Linked DNA regions of Homo sapiens: all the other regions are linked to region 1. Evidence: promoter capture Hi-C in 16 types of primary human blood cells and fetal thymus (Javierre and others, 2016). All regions are on one chromosome and are shown on one strand. Each heading gives the region's core, a stretch centred on a gene start or on the middle of the fragment in contact. The rest is flanking DNA. Distances are from core to core; before and after follow the strand shown.

Region 1 (3,882 bases), core at 709-3,208:
AACTTACTTCTAGCAGGATGACGGAAACAATACATCTTTAAAAAGTAAAGAAAAATGAAACAAAACAGAACAAAAAATCAACACAATCGTTCCACTAGAGCCAAAGATGTAAAAATAATTTGAACCTTTCTAAATTATGAATATATCTTTAAGGAATCTATGAGAGTATCTGCACACTTTTAGTTTTTAAAACAAGTAAGCCAATGAAAGGACATTAAATGTTTTCCCAATGAACTGCTGAAAGCTTATTTTCTGGACAATTCAAACTTTAGAAAGCAGATTCTGGTTTTGTGGGCCAGCAACCTTTATTATATGCCATGTAACAAGTGGCTCCAGGGACTCAGGTCCTATAAAAATATCACATTGATGAGGTTCTAATCAGTTCAAATGTTGTCATCTTCTAGTTTGGTGCCAGTGTCGTTATTTTAAAAGTGCAAAGTTTCCATGTTTAATTGGTGTTCAGCTTGTCTCTTAAAACATTGGTTTGGTTTTAAATGCAAGTTAAAATGAACAGCCTGGGCTCTGTCCTGGCATCAATAAACTTGTGCATTATTTTTATCCCGTATGTTATTCTGTTGTTAGTTTAACTGCCTGACCAGGTCACAGACCTAGGTGTTCCACGTGTGCATATGTTTTGCATACATTACAACCCAAGCATTGTAGCCAGAGCAGAACAAGAGCCATGAGGGAGGGGGCTCACACTCACAGGGTACAATTCACAGTGGGGGCTGATCCTGCTCCAGGCAGCACTGGATCTGGCCTGACTTCTCAAGAGAGAAACAACCAGGGAAGAGGGAAAACACAATACACTGAACTCCCCTGCTTTAGCTGCAAAGACTAAACCATCAGAGCTAGTCCCGAAAAACCCAAAACCCTTCAAGTACTGCTTAGGAATCTTTCTTCAAGAACCAGCGGCCTCCCGCCCACCCACCAGCCCTGTTCTGGGGAGCAAGGACAGGTTTGCAGTCTGAGGACTGGAATGCCCTCTGCCTGTGCCAGCACAGAAATGTGCTGCTAGCATTTGCAGAAACAAGTAAATGATGTGGTATGTGCATCCTTAATCTCTATTTTAATGTCTCCAGCAATCTAGTGGTTAATTAGCAATTTGCTGCCCACCAATATGCAAATGAATGACAAGCAAAGGTTCTCTGCATCTGTAATTATTTTGCTGATTTACAAGCCTCTTTCCTCTCAGTGTAGGTTTTTCTGTGTGTGTGCATTCATGCATCAGGGATTTCATTATTTTTTGAAGCATACTCTGTGCATTTTTATCCTTTAATACTTTCAGACTTCAGTAATCACAGTATTTTGAAAAAAAGAAAATATATATATATGTATAGTAATATATATGTATGTGCTTCCCTCCACCCCTCAACTCCAAATGAATTTGTCAGGGATTCTTTTCTTTGATAAAGAGTGGAGAGTAAGATTTATCAAGGGGCTGTAATCCAAATTGCAGAAAGTCAGAACGCAAGATTGAAAGATACACATTTTTGCTGCTGCCAAGTCCTTATCTGGATTCAGAGTCTAGTAATATTTTATTTTCTCCCAAGCAGCTCTGGTGAGTCGAGCCATGATCTGCGTTATCCATCTGCCTACTTTGGAGCGGGGTGTTGTACTATTTGGCGGCTTAAACGCTTTACGTTCTTGCCAGGGCATTAAGAAAGGCTCTCATGTTAAATTAAGTCAATTAATAAATGGAGACACATTAAGCAATCAATTTTGTCAGCCTATCTCCCCAGCATTAGGTATGGTTGGCTGTAATCACAAGATAAATGCAATGTGCTGATCTATGGTAATGTTCAATAATACATTCTCCGCCAGGCTCAATTCATCAGGGAGTTTCGGTAGGGAAGGCATTTGTTATTGGCTGTCTCTGCACCTCAAGGATAACATTTCTGTCCTTTTGATTGGCCGCCTCACTGCTGCAAGATTCTAACCGTCTTATTTTGATGATGAATATGAAGGCGCGCTAAGCCGGGCTGGAGCGGAGTGTCTCAGAGGCTGCGCTCCTTCCAGGGCCCAAGGACTCACAGCTTCCTCCGCTGCCTTCCCGGACCAACAACCCCCCAAAAGTTGTGATGCTTTTCTTTACCCAGTGCTTTGGGGCTGTATTAGATCTCATTCATCTCCGGTTTCAGCACTACAAGGCTAAACGGGTTTTCTCCGCTGCCGGGCAACTTGTCTGTGTCGTCAACCCCACACACAACCTAAAGGTGAGTCTCTGTGTCATTTTACCTTCACCGGGCTCAGGTTCAAGTCCTTTCTCGGAGGCGGCAGCGACCCTCCGGCGAACGTGTGCAGCCCTTTGCAAACCCGGGTCTCGGGGGCTGGGACGGTGTCTGGAACCCGGCGTGTTTGCCTCGGCTCACTCTCGCTCTCTAGGTGATTGGGTGCTGTTAGTGACCGAGTGTTGTTTCCCCAGCTGGCAGGAAAAGCTGGATTGATGGTCTGATGTCTTTCCCCGACGCTGTCAACCTGAGAGTGGCGTGGGGGGCAGAAGTGAGGGTGGTGGAGGGAACAGGGGGGCGTCCCCATCACTCCCCCTACTATTTGTGGGCAAGTGCTCAGGAGACAGGATTTGAAGTTAGCCAAATTCTCTCTGTCCCATGTGTTGGGAGAGGTGGTCAAACACGAGGATTTTAGAAGCTACTGGGGGGTGAGGAATCCTGAAACAGGGACTTGGACGTCGGTGGGGTGGGGGGAGGGTTCTTTCTGCAAAGTGTTTGTCCTTGTCCTCAGACTCGTGTGTGTGTGTGTGTGTGTGTGTGTGTGTGTGTGTGTGTGTGTGGTGTCGGGAGGATTTTGGCTTATTTCCTTCCTGCTGGTTAGATGCGCTCTGTGTACTGGAGCAGGATTTGCCTGGCTTGTGTAATAATGACACCAGCTTCTAGCTGCTGCCGCCGCTGCCTGGAGCACCCTAGGCAGCTGGGTGCTGGGTTGCTCGCGGCTGCCTAGCTGCCCCGGGGCCTCTGCATTTGTACCCTCAGGTCAGTGCCCTTTTAGAGACCAGACAAAATATGGGGTCCGGCAGAGCCGCTTAACATCACAGCCAAGACTGACTGGGAAAGGAATGATGGGCCACTGGTTAGGGGTAGTAGGGAGGAGGGGAAGTCAGGGAGGTGGGGGCTGGGGAGAGGGTGCAGCTGAACTCCCCGGATGGGAAACTCAGCACCTTGCCTCTCTCCTAACATAAAAGATGGACTCATTGGAAGTTCCTTTCCTGTACTCCTGTGTAAGGCAGGCAGGACTGAGTGCCGGGGGAGGGGCCGTGTCTGTAGCGACAGTGCCTGACAGTCTCTGTGAGGATAGATCTGTCCCTCTGACCACTGCTGTTGGGCAGGAAGAGCATTGCCTGTTGTCCATTACTTTATAAACTCCCACGGCCGGACTGTCCTCAGCTGGAGCCCCGCAGGTCAGCGCTGATGGGTGCCCCCACTCCTAGAAGTTCCGCCGAAAGACAGCTGCCTGGAGCTGCTGGGGTTACATGCCAAGGCCAGTCCTGGGGGAGGGGCGATGGACTATCCTGGGACCCCTATGGTGCATCTGACCTAGGATCTGACTCTCTCTGATATCCCAGCTGTGACGAATGCCATCGCATGCAACCGTTCACACCTGCTCTTGCTTGCGCGCTCTTGCCTCTCATTCCACTATTTCTTTTTTTCTTTTATAGCTTAGTTTTATAAATGAGAATTTACTACCAGTCATCCTTGGCAAAGCAAGTATGTAGTATGCACATTAAAATAAAATTCTGAATTCCATTTTATGGCCACTTTTGAGACTGCATTCAAACTTCCATTATTTTTTCCACTTTGGATTAGTTAGTTCCCTGGGGCAAGAAATTTTGTTTACTTCTGTTTTGTATTTTAATACCTTTAAAAA
Region 2 (3,882 bases), core at 604-3,103, 290 kb before region 1:
CTACACATTTACTATTTCTAGTGCTCTTCCTACTATTTTATAGATCAAGATTTCCATTTGGTATCATTTTCTGTCTACCTAAAATATTTCTAATAGCACAAGTTTGCTGGTGATGAGTGATTTCAGCTTCTATATGTCTGAAAATGTCTATTTCATTTTCAAAATATTTTTTTCTCTGAGTGCAGAATTCTAAGTTGATAGTTTTTTCTTTCCGTACTTTAAAGATAGTTTCACTGTCTTCTGGCCCACATTGTTTCCAAGGGGAAATCTATTGTCATTCTTATTGTTGTTCCCTCATATGTAGTATTTCTTTTCTGGCTTATTTTAAGATTTCTCTTTATTACAGGTTTTAGGTAATTTTATTATGATGTACATTGTTGTTTCTTTTTTTTTTTTTTTTTTTTTGAGACAGAGTCTTGCTCTGTCGCCCAGACTGGAGTGCAGTAGTGTGATCTTGGCTCACTGCAATCTCCACCTCCTGGGTCCAAGTGATTCTCCTGCCTCAGCCTCCTGAGTAGCTGGGACTACAGGTCCACGCCACCATGCCCAGCTAATTTTTGTATTTTTAGTAGAGACGGGGTTTCACCGTGTTGGACAGGCTGGTCTCAAACTCCTGACCTAATGATCCGAGTGCCTCAGCCTCCCAAACTGCTGGGATTACAGGCATGAGCCACCATGCCCAGCTCCATTGTTGTTTCTTATGCTTGAGGTTTGTTGAACTTATAGAATCTATGGGTTTATACTTTCCATCAAATTTGGAAAACTTAACTTTCATCTCTTCAAACATATCTTCCATACCCACCAGCCCTGGTTCTGGGGGATTCCAAGTCCATGTATATTTGATCGTTCAAAGTTGTCCCTAAGCTCACCGATGCTTTAGTGATTTATTTTCTCTATGTTTCATTTTGTATAACTTGTATTGCTGTGTTTTCAAGTTCACTAATCTCTTTTATTTTGCATGTCTAATATTCCATTAACTCCATCCAGTGTACATGTTTTTTAACCTGGACATTATAGTTTCCATGTATAGAAATTTTGAGTCATTTTTATATTTCCCATAGCTGTCCTTTCCTTTACCTTCTTGAACATACAGAAAATAATTACAGTAACTTATTTTGGGATCTGTTTCTACTAATTTATTTTTATCTTCATTATGAGTCATATTTTTTGGCTTCTTTGCATGCTGCTAATTTTTTAATTATATGTCAAATATCATGAATTTGACCTTGCTGTGTACTGGATATTTCTGTATTCCTTTAAATATTCTTAAATTTAATCCTGGGATAGACTTAAGTAACTTAAATACAGTTTGATCCATTTGAGGCTTACTTTTAAGCTTAATTAATCTAGAGCTCATTTTGCTTGTTAGTAATGAGAAAATGGTCTTCTGAGTACTTTGCTTGATGCTCATGTATTATGAAATTTTTCCACTCCAGCTGGTGGGAACAAATTTTTCCAGCCTTGTGTGAGCCCCAAGGATTGCTCTCGTGGCTCATTTCTGGTGGGTTTTTCCCCACAGCCTCTAGTAGTTTCCTCACACATGTGCACTGAGTGGTCCTCAGCTGAAGACTGAGGGAAACCCTCTGAAGGCCGCTGAAGCTTTCTTTCTGAATGACTCTCTTCTCTCTATACAGTTCTCACCACTCTGATAGTCTTTCCCCTAAATTCTAGGCACCTGGGCTTCCTTCATTTCTCATCCCTGTTTCCTCCACTCAAGAGGATGGCCAGCTGTTTGGGTTTTCTCCTCCTATGCTGCAGCTTGGAAACTTTTTCCATGCTGGAAAAATCTTAAGGCTAACTTTGTTTTCTTCTTTTCAGGGGCCACTGTCCTGTGCTTCCTATTGTCTGATGTCTGAACAACATTGTTTCATATGTTTTTCACTGTATTATAAGTGTTTAAATGTGGGCCCTGTTATTCCATCATGGCCAGAAACAGAAGTTCCTTTCATACAAAACTTTAGATATGTTTTGGAACTGAATATAAACTTGACTAATGTGAGAAGTATAGGGTGATATTAGTTAAACAAAAATAGGTTATAAAAAGATACACAAATAGAAAATAAATTATAAGAAAAAGAAACAATTTTGGTACAAAATCATAAGCTTGGGAAGACTTTTAGATAGGAATTCTGTAAGTAATAAAATAATTTACTTGTAAATGCTTCAGTCTTTCCCCCTATACTAATAGCTCTGACAAGGCAAGAATCTTACATCCCCTCATTAGATCCTATGTTAGTGTGACTCAATTCATTTTCCTACCTGGAAGGAAGCCCCAGAAACTGCATGTCACATTACATTCTGTCTGGAAAGATAATGGCAAAGACAAGGTTCGTGGTGTGCCTAGGCACTGCAGCTTTAGTTCCAAGCCACTGTCTGCAGATCCTAATAATGGCCGGCTCTGGATGTAATCGTGTCAGTATTTCCAGATAAGGTAGGATAATCAGAAGTGATCATAAAAGATTTCACTCCCTGATTCACATTTGCTTTACTAAGTATAGAGCTCCATTACCCATTTCCACACTGGGGTCTCTTTAATGATGGGGGCAGATGTCATAAGGCTCCCCTGGTGCAGAAAACTCCAGAACTAAAGAAACTCCAACTCTGTCTTTTAGTTTACTGCATGTATCCAGAACATCATTGAAAACTCCTCAGGGCTGTTCTCACCAGTGTATTTCCAGATGATATTTCCAAGCTATCTTTATTATCTTCCACAAGTTTTAAATTTTTAACAGATTAGCAATTCATACTGATTGCTTTAAAAACCAAAGCAAAAGTCCTTTTAGTTGCAACAGTTAAACTGACTCATGGGTTTCAATATTAAATAATCTTTAATATATGCTATTTTAATGATTAAAAAGCTCAAGCCAGCGGGTGCGGTGGCTCATACTGTAATCCCAGTACTTTGGGAGGCCGAGGCGGGTGGATCACCTGAGGTCGGGAGTTTGAGACCAGCCTGGCCAGCATGGTGAAACCCCATCTCTACTAAAAATACAAAAATTAGCCAGGTATGCTGGTGCGTGCCTGTAGTCCCAGGTACTCAGGAGGCTGAGGCAGAAGAATCTCTTGAACCTGGGAGGCAGAGGTTGCAGTGAGCCAAGATCATGCCACTGCACTCCAGCCTGGGTGACGGAGCGAGACTCTGTCTCAGAAAAAAACAAACAAACAAACTCAGGTCAACCCCATTCTATGTTAAATTTCATAATATCTGAAAAACGTCTTGCAATATGATCTTTGGATGTTTTATAAAAATGTGGCTCAAAGCCCTATTTAATGGCTGGCACATACACAACAAGGTCCACTCTGCTGTTGCTGTCTCCACCTGGTTAAAAAGTCATATTTCTCATGAGTGTTTACTACATAAGAATCGTGCATTTAAGAAAGTAGACAGAAAAATATATTACTGTAGAAGGAGAAGTAATGACTGATAATTATATAAATGGCACCGGAAGGGATTTTTTTCCCTGCATGCTATATATTAAAAGATCTATTAAATTTACAGCTGGTTCTAGCTGGAATTTATTTCATTGAATTGTGCTGATGTGCTAATTTGGTCATTTATCTGGACAATAAATGGCTTGTCATTTTTTCCTATGAGAGCAAATGAGAGATATGTACTTAAACTTCCCTATCCCCTTCAGTAGCTTGGAAATCATTCTCAGGGTGGACAGTTGGCAAACAGCATATGCATAAACTTGCAGATAAAACCCTTGAAGCAAGCAGGCTGCCAGCACATGGCAATGATGGCTCTGAAGCAAATGAACAAAGAATCCGAAGCAGACAATTAGGAAACTCTCCCCAGGTCAAACAGGCTGTGGATGGTGAAGTCAGGATGGGTCCTTGAAAAACAAAATGCCTGGTTTGTTCCTCTATGCCAAATAATAA
Region 3 (3,882 bases), core at 346-2,845, 270 kb before region 1:
GTCAAAGAGGGCTCTTACTCAGTATGCTTTCTCCCTATTTCTGAAAGACAGTTTACCAACTGAGCCTGTGAATGAGTGACAAAAAGAAAACTGCGTAAATGTTTTCTCATGCCTAACATCTACATATATTTAATAACCCACATCAGGCCAGGGACAAAAACAGGTAACCTAGTCATTGCCCAGCATGTCACCATTAACAACTCAGAGACAGGTCAGTAAAATGACAGGAATTTTTTATTTTATTTGGCAAGTTGGAATTGGAGAGTTCCACTTAAACATATATTTTCGTTAATGGAAATCTAATATACATCATTTAGAGAATTAGAATGCACACAAACACTGAATTCTGAAGGTATACGGAAGCTAACATAAAAACTGTTGATTCAGCAGTCATTTCTGGACTTGTCTACACCATGGGTCCACTGTTATAAGTCGCAATGTTCAAACCTGCTTGCTCTAAGTGTAGTGCTCAGACCGGGGGCATCTAGGAGCCGGTTAGAAGTGCTGAATCTCAGCCCTTACCCCAGACGTACTGAATCAGAATCTGCATTTTAATAAGATTCCTACGCACATTAAAGTTTGAGAAATGCTGTCCTAGAAGAATAAAGGTCTCGTTAAAAGATCTACAGTTGATGGAAGGCTAAATTAGGCTCTTTTAAATTAAATTACACTTTCTCACTTACACTGGACTCGAGAGAGTGAAATAACTTCCCATGAATGTTTCCCGATCATCAGTATTCACTTGATGTGGCCAGAGTGGCTCTTCCCTCTGTTTGGGTACTTCCTCCACCACCCAGCTTTGCCCTTTGCTGTGCCCCTTCCCTTGGTTTCCCCCTTCCAGGTGGCACTCGCTCTAAGAAGCTGATCTTCTGGTCCTGCTGGCACCTGCATTGTGTCTCTTGACATGATCTCTTGCCAGCTGCCCAGGGCTGCCTCTTTAATAGATCTGACCCAGTTTGTGCCACGTCACTCAAGTCTTCCCTCTTATCCCTCCACCGCCTGTCAAACTGGCTTTTCTCCCACCATGCCTGGAGCAATCTCTCTATGACTTCCAGTGACAGGGAACTCATTAAATAGTAAACCATTACTATTCCAAGGCCCTGCAGTGTCTACTCTTAACCCCCTAAGCAGGCACTTTGCAATGACTTTCTGGGGTTACAATAGCCTCATTGTTAAGTCTGCCAAATGCCTAATAACAAGGAGAAAGAGGAAAATGTCTTCCAAGTAGAGCGACTATCATATGCAGTGGTCCTGAGGATGAATGAAACTTGATATCTTTGAGGAACTGAAAGACAAGGATAACTGATGGGAAGCAAGAACGGCCATATCATAAGAAGCAGCGGTACTTGCAAAAAGCTTAGGAATCACCTGGGGAGCTTATTAAAACACATTTTCCAGATCTCACCTTGAGACTCAGTGCCTATAGGGCTGGTGAACCTAGCAATCTGCATTTCCCACAAACATCCAAGGAGATTCTGCAGCCTGTGACTTACAGACCATACTTCAAGAGGAACTGGTGTAGACCAGCTGTTCTCAATCCTGACTGCACATTGGAATTATCTCAGGAGTTTTAATCAATGCTGATGTCTATACTCCTCCCTACAAGAGTCTGACGTAATGATCAGATGTGCAGCCAAGGCAGCTGGGTTTTTAAAAGATCCCCAGATGACTCTAATGTGCAGCCAGGTTTGAGAAATGTTGATCTATAGCCTGGAGTACTGCGCCAAAGAGCAGGCACAGGTGGAACATCTTAACAGTTGGGCAGAACAATAACAGGCACTGTTGATTCAGAAAGTAGGAATGAAGGCATGGACACATTGCACAGGTAAGCTTTGCTTTCTTCACAATTTAGCCATCCAATCAACAGGCATTTGCCTGTCTGGGTACCCAGTAACCCTCTTAAGTGCCACAGGCCTCAGGCTTAGTCTTGCAAGCCAAAGCAAGGTCATTAGTACCTGGGATTGAGTTCTCTGCGTTCAGGCCTCAAATCCCCTTTTTAAATGGCTTCTGGGCTAGCCTCATCTTTCCTCCCCCTTAGAAATACAGGAGGCCAGATACCCCAAGACACTGTTTAAATTATAAGACTGGTTCACTTTTCATGAATAAACATGAGAGATAATGTGTGAAGGGGAAAAACATTTACCAATCATGCGTCTTCAAAACCTTCCAAGATTATGCAGCTTTAATGGCTGAATGATTTTGAAAGAAAAACTTGTAAATGGAGCTGCACCTGAACTCATAATAAAAAGGCATCAGATTAATTGAGTCTCAGAGCTTCCCTAACAATAAGCCTGACCTGCATATCCAAGTTGTGGCCGGCCAAGGCCAAGAGGGCATTTGCCCTTAGTCTCAGGCTGCTCCAGTTTGACAGAAAGTCAAGGCAGGCCACTCCTGACAGGGTACACTAATAAGGACAGAGGGTTAGGGCACTTCAAGAAATACTTGCCATATTATTTTTGCTACTCATTCTTCTAAATTGGCTGGAGAACAAGTTAGCTGGGTCCTAGGGTCCACGATCCAGTCAGATAGATCGGCCAGAACTAGATGGCCTCTTGAGGTGGTGACTCATCACCTAACTCTCAGAATGCAGCAGAGGAAGACTAGCTGTTCCCAAGATCCTGATGAACTAGATAAGCCTCCTGCAGAGAACACAGGAGGCTTCCTGGCTTCCTGCCAACTCCCTTCCTGGTTTATCTTTTTCATGTGAATTTTAATATATTGAGAACCTGCTTTTGCCAGTTAGTTTAAATGTTACCCCATTCAATCCTCACAACAGCCCTCTGAGGTAGGTTACAGAAGAAGCTGCATTTCCAGAGGCTGAGATTTGCCTAATTACCCAGCTAGGCATGGGATCCGTCGGCTCCAACTTCTGTGTTCTTTTTGCTCCCCAGTAGAGGTGACAGGATCCACAGAGAGGCATCTCAAAGAGGGATAAAGAATGAGAAGAAATTTGTCTTTCCCTCCCTTCCGTTCTTCCTCCCTCCCACCCTTTCTTCCTTCCTTTCTTGCTTCCTTTCCTCATTCTTTTGTTCTTCCATTCTCTATTTGTACATACAATAAAATTCAACTTTTAAGTGTTAAATCTGAGGAATTTTAGCAGGATACAGTTGTGTACCTACCACCACAATCAAAATATAGAATACTTCCACCACTCCAAAACAATTCTGCTGTACCTTTTCAAAGGTTAATCCTCTTTCACCAGCTCTACCCTCTGGCAAAAACCAACCTACTTTCTGTCTCTGTAGTTTTGCCTTTTGTAGGGTGCCATATAGATGGAGCCATACAATATACATCTTTTAGCGCTAGCTAGTTTTATTGGCATCATGCTTTTGAGGTTTTTCCACCTTGTTGCTTGTATCCATGGTCTTGTCCTTTTCACTCTTGAGTAGCATGTCATTGTATGAATGCACCACAATTTGTTTATCCACTCCCCAATTGATGGTCATTTGGATTGTTTCAAGTTTTTTTTTATTGTTATGAATAAAGTTGCCATAAACATTCAGCTTATTGAGCATTCAGCTGCTATGACACTCAGGTCTTTCTGTAGACAAATGTTTTTATATTAGGCAAATATCCAGAAATAGAATTACTGGGATATATGGTAAGTACATGTTTAACTTCATGAGAAATTGCCAGACTGTTTTTCAAAGTGGTTGTACCATTTTGCAACCCCACAAGCAATATATGGGCATTCGAGTTGCTCCACATTCTCACCATCACTTCGTATTCTCAGACTTTTTCATTTTAGTTATTCCAGGAATGTGCAGTAGCAAATTGTGGTTTTAATTTGCATTTTCCCTAACAGCTAATGATGTTGAACATGTGCTTACTGGCCATTTGCATATTTGGTAAAGTATCTGTATAATCTTCTGCCCACTTTAT
Region 4 (3,882 bases), core at 398-2,897, 260 kb after region 1:
GGACAAATACAATGCTGTCAAGCGAATGGAACTGTGTATAAAGCAAACACTTTGAAAATAAATGTCCTGCTAACAAAAATTGGAGAGGCACTGAAAAAACACTAGGGAGATGCTGAAATGCCTTTCAAGGCTCATGAAAGAATGTCTTGGTCTATGAAATTCTAGGGTTTCAAGATAGATTGTACAAAACAGGTTAAGAAAAAATGTATAAGAAATTTCTTAACTTTTCAAAAAAATATATCAATGTTTTTATGTAGAATAGTCTCCTAATACCCTTAAGATATAACTTTGTTTACCCTCGTGTTGAACCTCAGTGACTAACAAGAGTGCCTTCCTCACCTATAGCAGATGCTCAGTACATGTAAATTGAATCAAGTGATCATATTCACTAACTAGAGCCAGTCACACTCACATATACATGGGTGCACACAAATTTTTTTAACCTTATCCATTAATTGGCATCTATAAAATGAGCCCTAGATATGACAAATGGGCTTATCTCTCATGCTGATGCATTAACTACTTGAGGTTAGTAGTGGAAAACTATGTTGAGAAGAATTTTGAGGGATTGTCTGGGCTCAGCAGCAAAGAGTGCTGTGAGCAACTAGTGATGTCTGCCACAGGAGCAGAGAGTGAAGGGGGTGCCTGAGTGTCATTTATTTATCTACTTAATAGCAGGTAGGAGTCTGTCATGAAGAGCACATTTTCCTTTCTCTCAGGAGCTTGACTGCCTAGGTTTGAATGCCAGCTCTCTCCCTTTCACTAGTTGCATGAGCTTGGGCAAGTGACTTAACCTCTCCATGTCTTGGTTGTCTTCATTGTAAATAGGAACAGCATTAGACCTACCTCATAGGATGTGTGGGAGGATTAAAGGGATTTAATTGGGTAAATCATTAAGAAATATGCCAGACACATAGCATTTTAGGCCTAAGCAAGTGTTAGCCATTATAAGTATTATTATATTACATGATGTATTATTATTCCCTTGCCATTGACTTGTGCCTGGCCACACACCCCTAGCCACATTACCTGCTTTGTGAAATGGACATAACCAAAAGATGAGACACAATGAAACAGGCTGTGGGAGGGATCTGCACCCTCCACTCATCTACCCTATAGCGGTCAACTTCAGAGATTCCCATAGCCCTGGACAAATCAGGTTACATCAGACTAACAACCCCCACCCACCTCTCTTCCTTAAAGGGTTGATTCCCCCCAAAGTTTATGGGGAAATCCAGTAAAATTGGGTGAGCAACTTGAATATAAATGCAGCATCAATTGCCAGTGAATAATTGGTTGGTCGCATCTGACTGGCCTGCTGGGGGAGTTCAGATTTTGGATGCACAACATGGGTGTGAGTGCTGTGGTGTCCAAGTCAGAAAACCCAGCACACGGTGGAGTCTAGACCTTGGGCATGTCACTTACCATCTCTAGGTTTCAGTTTCCCCATGTGCAAAAACACCTTTCTCACAGTGGGTTGTAATAAGTAAATGAAGTAACATACCTGAAACTGCTTTGAAACTCCCCTGTACCACACAATTGTAAGGTATAAAATACTCTTCTAATCTTACAAGAAGAAAGGCAGTAGAGGAGCCTCCAGGCTACATTGCTCTCCTGCTGCCACAGAACATGCTGTAGAGTGAAACCACCCCATAATGAGACCCCCTTTTAGTTTTTTTAGTACCCAAGACATTCCTAATGATAAATTCTGCCCTGTGGCAAATAATGCTATAGAGATGTCACAATACATTGATTTTGATTCATCATGTTTTTGCCTAATCTTTTGATATACATAGTGCATCGAATTTTATTTTCTTTACCCTGCTAGATCCTCCTCGGCAGCTCCAAATGCCGTCTGGCCTAAATGCTGTAATTCAGTTGCCATTTCCAGTTGAGAGTTGGTGTCCCAACTACCATTTCCAACAGGGAACCTAGCAATTCTGGAAATTTCAGAAGAAAGGTGCAAGAGATACTAACAAGGCAGAGATGAGAAAGCCAGCCAACTTTTCATGAAAGGAAGTTCACCTCTGTGACCTTGAGTCAGCCACTGGTGGGTGGGGGAACGCTGAGCCCCAGAGCTGGTTTCTTCTGCCTCCAATGTGCTCCCAAAAGAACAGAATCATTTTCTGCACGTGTCTTGTCCCAGCGAAAGTTAGGGAACATAGTCTGATGGCATAGGGTACATATTGTCTATTTCACAATCTGTATCTCCTTTAATTGTCCCAACCATTATCTCTTCCTGCCCATTTCACAGATGAGCAACTTGGAGCTAGAAAGAGGGCATGTGACTACTCCAAAGTCACAGAAAATCATTAGAAGGGCCAGGACAGGCTCCCAAACTTTCTCTCCTCTTCTAGTCGCTTCTCCTCCTTTCCTCCCTTCCTTCCTCCTTTCATGCTTTGTTTCTGCTTTTTAATAAGTTGTGCACCTATTTTAATTTTAGAAAAGTGACATCAAAAAACGAATATCTTCTTGTTCCTTTTTTTAAAAAATGAAAAATTTGAACAGTAAAAAGTAGAAAGACATCCCCCAACCCACGAACATTCAAATATAAATAAAGCTAATTCACACATAAGTGATTTGTATTCTGTCTCTCTGCCGCCATTGTTTGCATTTTTGGTAGTGATGGTCCTTGTTGTGTGGTTTGGTTTTTACTGTTTTAAACATGCTGTCTATACAAGTTAGTACTTTACTTTTGTAACTTAGTATTATAACTTCACCATTTGCCCATGTTGCTTAATTTTTAGAGACATCATTTTATTTTTATTTATTTTATGTTTTTGAGATGGAGTCTTGCTCTGTCGCCCAGGCTGGAGTGCAGTGGTGCCATCTTGGCTCAGTGCAAGCTCCGCCTCCTGGGTTCACGCCATTCTCCTGACTCAGCCTCCCGAGTAGCTGGGACTACAGGCGCCTGCCACTACATCCAGCTAATTTTTTGTATTTTTAGTAGAGACAGCGTTTCACCACATTAGCCAGGATGGTCTCGATCTCCTGACCTTGTGATCCGCCCGCCTCAGCCTCCCACAGTGCTGGGATTACAGGCATGAGCCACCTCACCCAGCCGAGACATCATTTTAATAGCCAAGGGATGTTCCTCAATAATATTTTCTTGCATGGGTAAGCTACGGATAAGTGGAAGTGTTCACATTTCCCTTTCCAATTCAAATGTTCTGGTTCTCGTTTCTCTACTGCTTCCCCTGTTGCCATTTTGTATTATCAGAATTGTTGGCATAATTTATCCCAAGTCTACAAGAAATTCTTTATGCCATATCATTCAAGGCAAACAATCAGGTGATTACGTGACACAAGCAGGTCCTTTAAAATTAAAAATAATCCTTAAAATACATATATCCCCTGCACCTCAGTCACCTCTGCTGGACCGATGTCCTTCATCCCAATACAGAAGTAGGCTTCTGGGATAACCATAGAGATAAGCAAAGCAAACTCGAATTTCCAAAATCCATGATTGCCTGAAAAGTATCTTCTTGAGTTCTCACTAATTTTATAAAATTTCAACCCAGTAATTTTTAAAGGAAACCATTAAGAGACAATACTAAAGAAAAGTAAAAATAGAAAATTTCTATAACTAGGGCCCTCTCCACGTACTTAACAACGTATTTTTAAATAGAAAGAAAGATGCTTTTTTGCCAATATTGCTTTTTTATTCTTTTTTCCAATAGAACCCAAGGCAAGTTATTCATCACAAACCATGCTTCTTCGTGATGCAAGGTAACAGTTTTCTTTTGGGATAAATCAGGTGGAAACTCCTGCTTGGGGACAATGTTTCAGCAGCCCTTGGAGAACACAGGACAGGGAGTGGCATGGAGTAGGGGAGGAAGAAGGAGTTTAGTGGGGGTTCCTGGAAGTTACAACCCTGCTCGC

The links. Contacts are between HindIII fragments. The CHiCAGO score rates a contact against its expected background, and 5 or more counts as called.
Region 2: a fragment that was not itself captured here is called in contact with the fragment with the promoter of SIAH3 in region 1 in 1 of 17 cell types (endothelial precursors); the score reaches 5.4 in endothelial precursors.
Region 3: a contact is called between a fragment that was not itself captured here and the fragment with the promoter of SIAH3 in region 1, in 1 of 17 cell types (endothelial precursors). The highest score is 5.2, in endothelial precursors.
Region 4: a fragment that was not itself captured here is called in contact with the fragment with the promoter of SIAH3 in region 1 in 1 of 17 cell types (M1 macrophages); the score reaches 5.0 in M1 macrophages.

What each region holds. Positions count from the first base shown.
Region 1 is chr13:45,849,829-45,853,710 of GRCh38, reverse strand. It overlaps SIAH3 (siah E3 ubiquitin protein ligase family member 3), which reads left to right and starts at 1,958. Exons shown (of 2, transcript NM_198849.3): 1 at 1,958-2,216. The coding sequence starts at 2,082. RefSeq lists an enhancer at 2,849-3,386. The HindIII fragment of the contact is 4,746 bases long and covers 247-3,882 here.
Region 2 is chr13:46,137,929-46,141,810 of GRCh38, reverse strand. The region is part of intron 13 of LCP1 (lymphocyte cytosolic protein 1); the gene reads left to right. Among named protein-coding and RNA genes, the nearest start is that of CPB2, 35 kb to the right of the region's middle. The HindIII fragment of the contact is 504 bases long and covers 1,602-2,105 here.
Region 3 is chr13:46,119,035-46,122,916 of GRCh38, reverse strand. No RefSeq gene overlaps it. Among named protein-coding and RNA genes, the nearest start is that of CPB2, 16 kb to the right of the region's middle. The HindIII fragment of the contact is 474 bases long and covers 1,359-1,832 here.
Region 4 is chr13:45,590,496-45,594,377 of GRCh38, reverse strand. It overlaps ERICH6B (glutamate rich 6B), which reads left to right. Exons shown (of 15, transcript NM_182542.3): 4 at 3,681-3,729. Among named protein-coding and RNA genes, the nearest start is that of ERICH6B, 23 kb to the left of the region's middle. RefSeq lists a silencer at 1,381-1,440. The HindIII fragment of the contact is 5,237 bases long and covers 1-3,882 here.